Regions from separate parts of the Homo sapiens genome. Here region 2 is linked to region 1. Evidence: promoter capture Hi-C in human tissues and cell types (Jung and others, 2019). All regions are on one chromosome and are shown on one strand. Each heading gives the region's core, a stretch centred on a gene start or on the middle of the fragment in contact. The rest is flanking DNA. Distances are from core to core; before and after follow the strand shown. Region 1 holds the start of SLC32A1 (solute carrier family 32 member 1). Region 2 overlaps DHX35 (DEAH-box helicase 35).

Region 1 (3,956 bases), core at 559-3,058:
GGCAGGAGCTAGGGGCTTTCCAGAGCTTCTGGGGAAATTAAGGGGGTACCTGGGGAGAGGTTAGGAGCATCTCTGTCCAATGTGGTGGAGGTTCCCTATCTGGAGAGAAGCCTCCTCCGGGAGACTGGGAGGGGCTTGGGATGGGAGGAGGTGGCAGGAGGCGGGAGGGTGTAGAGAGGGAAGCCTGTCTTGTCCTGGCAGCTCCAACTCTCTGGCCAAAGCCCTCGGGCCGCCCTACTTGTGCGCTGACGTGAGCTAATCTAGAAATACTGCAGAGAAAGAGTGGCTGGGGTTCCCAGGGAGAAAGGGCCTCGAGAGAGGGGAGATGGGGAGCTGCTTCCTTTTTTGTTTCCTTCGGTTTTTCCGTCCGCCCCCGCCCCCACTTCCAGTCACAGCCGCTACTTCTCCATTCAGGCTGGGACTGCCAGGTGGAGCCCTGCGGTTTACTGCTCAGGAGGAGCCCGGCCAGGACATCAGCTGGGGACTTACGCAGGGACCCATTCAGAGCAGCGGACCCTCACGGAGACTACTACAAAGGGACTAACACAGGCACGAACGCAGGCAACCCCATTCGGGAACACATACGTAATCCAACACACTAGCTCTGGCACACACACTGGAATGCGCGCAAAACCACACAGACACAGAACACACGCGGTTACCAAACCTCATTCTCAGAGGCCACACTGATCCAACCTCAAGCAGAGTCTGATACAGCATCGGTCTTTGTCTCTGGGTCTCTCCCTTACTCGCGCTCACACACCCGTACCCCAATCAACACAAACAGCCCAAGCTTTCACAGCCTGGAGGCGGCCGTCGGAGCAGGGCCCCAGCGCACCGCGAGCCTCTGCTTCCTCCGCCTTGCAGCGCCGCGAGCCCTTCTTTCCTCCGCGCCTGGCCCCGTCTGCGCCCCTCTCGGCGTGGGCATTCGCAGACCCGCTAGGAGGCTGACGAGAGGTGTCCTCATAGAGTCCTGCCTTCTTCCAGACCCCCAAACGAAAAGAAAGAGAAAAGCCAACCTTTCGCCTCCATTCTGCACGCATTTGGAGAGCGGCTGGTGGCGAGCGATCCGCACAATCGCTTCCCTCGCGGCGTCCCTGGACGGGCGGAGAGAACCCGGGTGACTGAGCCTGAGGCTGAGCTTCCTTGGGAGCGATCCATGCCAGCCACTTCTACCTTCAAGGGGGACTCGCGGCCGGGTTTACGCGCGAAGGATGGGTGCCAGGGAAACTGACTTATAGACGACCCGCTCCGCGAGAGACTGACAACTCAGTCCTGCGGGCTTTCGGGGCGCCCAGACCAGTCCTTAGCCAGAGGATCTGGGGCTGCACAGCTCCCGGACCCTGGAGGGGGTGGTCCGGGGGTGGGAGACTGCGAGCATCAGCCCACGCCGGCCCCCTCCCACCCTGCGGCGGCGAGGTGGGAAGGGCCAGGATGCGAGCTTAGCACCTCCCCTAGAAATGCAGCACTTCGCCCCCCCACCTCCCCTGCCCTCGGCGCTCCCTCTTTCACGCGCTCCCTCCCGCCTCCTTCCCAAGGGCGCCCTTCTTCTGCCCCCAGCTCACGTCTGAATCCCTCGGCGCCCCCTTTCTCTTCTCCTAGCCCCTTCCTCACGTCCCCTGCCTCCGGGTATTTCCTCTCTCCAATCCCCCACCCCCGCACCGCCTGATTCCGAGGGGCGGGAGCGCATTGGGCTGCGCACGGGTGGGGGCGCCGCGCCAGCTTCGCGTAGCTGCTCTGACGCCGCTGCCGCCGCCGCCGCCGCCGCCGCCCTCCGCAGCCCAGCTCGCGCCCCGCGGCAGCTCCGCAGTGCACTAGCCACCACCGCCGCCGCCGCCGCTCCGCCAGACCTGCTGCCAGCTTGCCCGGTCCAGCCCTGAGAGAGCCTCGAACGCCAGCTGCGAGGGTCATGAGCCAGAGAGCCCCGGGGCGCCGCGCGGAGAGCAAGCGGAGATAGCGACTTTGCGCCCCCCAGCCCTCGCCTTCTTGCATCGCGTTCCCCGCATCCTCGGGTCCTTCTGTCCTTTCCGCTGTCCCCACCGCCGCCATGGCCACCTTGCTCCGCAGCAAGCTGTCCAACGTGGCCACGTCCGTGTCCAACAAGTCCCAGGCCAAGATGAGCGGCATGTTCGCCAGGATGGGTTTTCAGGCGGCCACGGATGAGGAGGCGGTGGGCTTCGCGCATTGCGACGACCTCGACTTTGAGCACCGCCAGGGCCTGCAGATGGACATCCTGAAAGCCGAGGGAGAGCCCTGCGGGGACGAGGGCGCTGAAGCGCCCGTCGAGGGAGACATCCATTATCAGCGAGGCAGCGGAGCTCCTCTGCCGCCCTCCGGCTCCAAGGACCAGGTGGGAGGTGGTGGCGAATTCGGGGGCCACGACAAGCCCAAAATCACGGCGTGGGAGGCAGGCTGGAACGTGACCAACGCCATCCAGGTAAGCGCGGGATTCCCAGTTCTGCCTGTCCTCCCCCCTCCCAGCTCAGCGTGCCGGGCTCTGCCCCCGACAGTCGCCCGGTGATCTCGGCCTGGAGACCCCCTCCTGTACCCAGGAATCTCCCTTTCTCCATCCCTCCCAGCCCTGCGCGGGGACCTACGCCCCCAGGCGGTGTTTTCCGCCCTAACCCACGCTCCCTCCCAACGGCACCAGCTGCAAGACCGCTAGGCTGAAGTTCGGTCTGAGACACCTGTCCGGAGACACTGCAAAAGTGAAGGAAATGGGGGGAGGGAGCAGGAAGCGATGAGAAAGAAAGAAAATCAGGATTGGAGGGCACGGTTTGGTCTTGGACTCTGGAACGGATTCACAGCTGCATTTTTGGGAGGAAAGAAGAAGGGGAAATCGCTGAGGTCGGAGTCTCCTCCCCCCGCACACACGCATAGACACGCACACGTATATAGGCAGGCACACCACATGCCCACAGCCCCCCTTCCCACGAACAAAGGCGCAGGCACAGGCGCACACGACATGTATCTATATATAGACCACAGTACTATCCCCAAATGCACCTGCGTACACCCCTACAGCTCCACAAACAAAAGCATATACCTGCACATACCAAACACACGAATATTCGTTTGAACATATGCACACACACATGCACAGATGCATGCAGACAGGAACCAGCCTGCTCCCTTGGGTGCGGCCCTGTTGGAGACATACAGGTATACACACACGAAAGCACACACATGCTCCCACACAAACACATTTAGTCCGCAATAATCCAGCATTACCTGTGCACAGACTCGCCCCTCTCGCCCGAAATCCCGGCTGCACCGCAAAGAGGCGGCCAGCTCCTCCCCGTGTGACCCTGGCGAAGCCCTCTCCAGAGGCTAAGAATGGCCCCTGCTCTCTAGGCCCTCTCCCCTTATTCCTAACCCCCCACTCCCCACCAGGCGGCGCAGGACTCCTACATAGGGAGCAGGTTTGGAGTCTTGGCAACGACCTCCGAGCTAGCAGGGGCTGGCAGGCCGCAGCTTTCTGGGCCGAAGGAGACTTCAGCTCTAGGCAACCCCGGTCCCTTACAGCTTGGCCCCGCGGCGTCCCTGGAGCGCACTATCACTGGGGCCACGGAAGGCAGGTTTTCTGGGAGCAGAGGCCTCCCAGGGGTTGTTCCATGTATCGGGGTAAGCAGGACTCCACCGGGCCCCGAACACCAGATGGCCCGACCCAAGGCGCTTTCCGCTCCGGGGCCCGGCGAGACGGCCTTGCTGGATCACGGACCCGGGGCTGCTCCCGCCTTCGCTGTGCCCCGCGACTTCCCGGGGCGTCTTTCAAGGCTCCGTTTGATAGGCCCCAAGGGAGGCCAGGGCAGGAGGCTGGAGGCTCGTAGGCCTCCGGGACCCTGGATTTCGTTAGCTCTTAGTCCCCGTGTGGATTCTAAACCCTACAGCCCTGTCCGCCTGACCCTGAAGCTTCTGGTTCTAGACTCTTGCTCGGTTCGGCTTTCTGGCCTCCC
Region 2 (3,956 bases), core at 478-2,977, 300 kb after region 1:
TTATGGACAATAGGAGAGAAGAGACTGGATATCGGATTAGATCATATTTAGACATGTAGATTTGAGATTTTATCAGCTCAGTGCTTAGGAAAAATACAGAAAATCATGGAGACTAAATAAATTACATGCAAATTTAAAACATCTAAGGGTTAAAAAATAGAAAGCAATTAGTGAAAGATACTTTCAGCAGTCATGAGATAAATGATAAAGATTAAAAACTTTATTATAGAATGATTTTATTTAATATATTTAGGAAAAAACAGTTTTCAGGTTGATAAATGGGCTAAGGATTAGAACAAAAAATTCACAAAAGAAGAAATATGCCGATAGTAATCAAATAAATGTAATATAAAAGAAGGTAACAGAAGGTAACACTTTTTGCCAAAACATTGCTAGTAAGAATGCAGTGAAACTGCCATTTTTATATATTGTTGATGGCTTTGGAAATAGTACCACCTTTATGGAACTTACTTACCAACATGCTTTATTCCATTGGATCTAAGATACCATCATGTGTAAGAAACATCGTTATTTTATGTGTCACCAAAGAAAAAAAATGCTGCCAGTTATCATTGTAAAATGCTGTCCTAATTTCAGTGAATTAAAGTTAGAAAAAGAGCGAGTCTTAAAATTGATGAGATGTGATATGTCATTAACCATAAAAATAACATTAGCCTTTTGCACAACAATTTGGAATGTATCCTATGGACATCATCTAATAGTGGGGAAGCTTTATTCATGGAAGATGTTAGCTGTAGCAATAGAAACACCAGTTAAAATGGAACATTTGAAAAATTTGAAGAATTACTTCAATTTTCAAACACTAGCTCATAACCACAGAAGTAACGTTGTATACTATCTCCAGTTTGTGTTTTATAGAAAGAACATTGTTGCCATATGACACTCTTTTACAAAGGAGTTCTGAGGTCACTGACCAGCCTGCAGAGCAGCACTCTTAGGTTCTGGTGCCCAGCCATGGTCCAGTCATCTGTGGCTTAGGGGAGGTTGGAGGGGTCCCAGGTTCAAGGAGCAGACCAGCATTGTTGTCAGCAGCAGTTGTGGGGAGTGGGACCTCCTTAGATGGTGCTGGGGCAGGCATCCAGCATTGGGAAGGGTAGGGCTGGAGCCATTTCAGGAGAGGGTTTCCAGGTGTCTTGAAGCAGCCTGGGGTGGTGCTGGGAGTGGATCCTGTGCATTAGAGCACACGGAGCCTAGGGCAGGCAAGGGTTTCACCCGCCTCTCTGTTGGCTGCCTATGTAGGTGACCCGGATCTGGTTCTGAGGTGCATTGTCTCCGGCTTCTTCGCCAATGCAGCGAGGTTTCATTCTACTGGAGCTTATAGGTAACATGATACTTGGTGAAGTCATTTGTTAAAGGAACAATCTTACAAATGACCCAAACCCCACAGAAAGCTGTGCAGAGATAGTAATTGCATAATTATTTGTAATTTCTACCATGTCTCCTTCCAAAACTGAGTTGAGGTTAGCGACATAGCTTTAAGCAAAATATCTTGACTTTCTAAAAATGATTCTCACATATTCAGCTCATCTATATGTTGTATGTTTTAGAAGGATGACAATTATACATCTTGAGGCTGGTAATATTTCAATTCTAATGACAGAATAATATGACCTGAAGAAACTATTAAAAATAATGTTTCTCAGAGAAGTTATTTTACAATTGGCTAGTTTATTATGTCTTTAGAGATCTGCACGACTGAAGTCCCCTCCCACCCTGGTATAGTGTGGCCACGTCTGGTGTCTTTGGAGGTAGCCAGGTGTTTCTCATGTGCTGGATGTGCCTCCTGCTACATAACCTGATTCTTCCAGTTCCATTTTCTAGGCATAGGAAATCACTCATTGATGCCTTCCTAATGGTCTTTACTATATTCAAATGCAGTGAAAACTAAGCATAGCTTAGGCATACTGTAGCCTGTCAGTATCATGATTCTCCAAACTAATCATTCCAGTGCTTTGAATTGTTACTTTTATTCTGTCTTTTCTGTCTTTGGCTCATTTTAGTTTCATAACCTCAGTGTAGCCTCCTAAAAGTGTAGCTATCATCATTTTCTGTTCTTTAATAAGAGAACACTCCAAAGAATTTCTCCCCAGCTCTTCTATGTATTATTTTGTCATTAATTTTTTTTCCCAGAGAAAATATTACTGCCCTGTTATCTTGAGGTCAGCCAAGATATCCCTTGTCCTGGGCTCCTGTTAATGAGTCCAGAGTTGCACTGAGCCTTTTTTAATTTTGACAGCCAGATCTGCTCCATCTAGTATCCTAGTAGCCGACTGTTGGAACTGCAGGATAGCACTTTACAATGATCTCTAGTATGTTCTCTTTGTTACTCCAGGCATGTTGTAGCCTGTCAGTATTGTGATTCATTTGCCCATTGTATGAGCTCACCTCCCCACCCTGAGTTGTCTGTATTTGAGGCAACTTGTCCATGTGGAGGCGACCCCCACGGTGGCCCGAGATCTTCCCTAAGGAGTGCTGCCAGCTTGTCATCTTGATTGCTCCTACTCTCCTGGAGAGTTAGCAATTTTGACTAGCGTTTGGAAAATTCTTTTATCAGTGTCCTTAGCAACAATGTGGGCTACCTAAGAGGTTCCAGGCTAATCATTCCTTTGAGACAACATTTAGTGTTGATCAGCTCACCACCCCCTGGTAGGACAGCCCAGGACCCCAGGACGCTGGCTTTATTACAATGCCGACGAGGCATTCCGTCACAGCACTTGAAGCACTTCCCCCAAGAAACAGATCATTCTACTGAGTTGGAATTGGAAGTACTATTTCAGAGAAATTAATAGTCCAGTATTGAGCTTTTTTTTTTTTTTTTGAGATGGAGTTTCGCTCTTGTTGCCCATGCTAGAGTGCAATGGGGTGATCTTGGCTCATCGCAACCTTTGCCTCCCAGTTTCAAGCGATTCTCCTGCCTCAGCCTCCGGAGTAGCTGGGATTACAGGCATGTGACACCACACCCAACTAATTTTGTATTTTTAGTAGAGACAGGGTTTCTCCATGTTGGCCAGGCTGGTCTTGAACTCCCGACCTCAAGTGATCTGCTCGCCTTGGCCTCCCAAAGTGCTGGGATTACAGGCATGAGCCACCATGCCTGGCTGTGAGCTTTCTTTTTTCATTATCGTTACGTCCCCCTATAGTCATTATCTTTAGTATTTAACTTTGCTTTTTAGATTATAGAAGAAATCACATGTATTATTTCCATTCCAAAGGAAATTGTTTTGAAAGAGCACCTGCAGAAGATACACATAAACATAGGCAGAGCATTTTATTCCTAAATGTTTTTTCTAAGTGTCCGCGTGTTGCTTTTCTCCTCTTCGCTTTTTCCACGTGATTTATTCTTGACTTCTGGGGTGGCAGCCAGGAGAGGGATCAAGAAAGGTTGCAAGAGAAGATGGAGATAATTGTTTTGCTTGTGACGAGTTCAGTCTGCATGCTTTTTTGGTAATATTAAAAATATCTGTGGGAAAGTCTTGCTATAAGTATTTAAAATGTGCTTCAGACAAAATTCTTCTATGTTCCAAGGACCATCCGTGATGACCATGAGCTGCACATACACCCTGCGTCAGTCCTCTATGCAGAGAAGCCGCCTCGCTGGTAAGCTCATCCTGCTGCTTAGCCTGTGCCTGCTTTGAACAGGGCCATGTTCTTGTTTTTCTCCTGTACATGTTTCTTGACATCGCCTCTAGAATTGCTGCTCTGGGCCGGGCGTGGTGGCTCACGCCTGTAATCCCAGCACTTTGGGAGGCCAATGTAGGCAGGTCACCTGAGGTCAGGAGTTCAAGACCAGCCTGGCCAACATGGTGAAACCTCATCTCTACTAAAAATACAAAAATTAGCCAGGCGTGATGGGCACGTCTGTAATCTGAGCTACTCGGGAGGCTGAGGCAGGAGAATTGCTTGAACCTGGGAGGCAGAGGTTGCAGTGAGCTGAG

The links. Contacts are between HindIII fragments. The study calls those that stand out against the background at their distance.
Region 2: a contact is called between a fragment that was not itself captured here and the fragment with the promoter of SLC32A1 in region 1, in 2 of the 25 tissues and cell types used here (lymphoblastoid cells and spleen).

The regions. Positions count from the first base shown.
Region 1 is chr20:38,722,678-38,726,633 of GRCh38, forward strand. SLC32A1 (solute carrier family 32 member 1) reads left to right here and starts at 1,809. Exons shown (of 2, transcript NM_080552.3): 1 at 1,809-2,437. The coding sequence starts at 2,048. RefSeq lists an enhancer at 3,664-3,956. The HindIII fragment of the contact is 7,924 bases long and covers 1-3,956 here.
Region 2 is chr20:39,027,158-39,031,113 of GRCh38, forward strand. It overlaps DHX35 (DEAH-box helicase 35), which reads left to right. Exons shown (of 22, transcript NM_021931.4): 19 at 1,261-1,342; 20 at 3,547-3,618. Among named protein-coding and RNA genes, the nearest start is that of DHX35, 67 kb to the left of the region's middle. The HindIII fragment of the contact is 7,874 bases long and covers 1-3,956 here.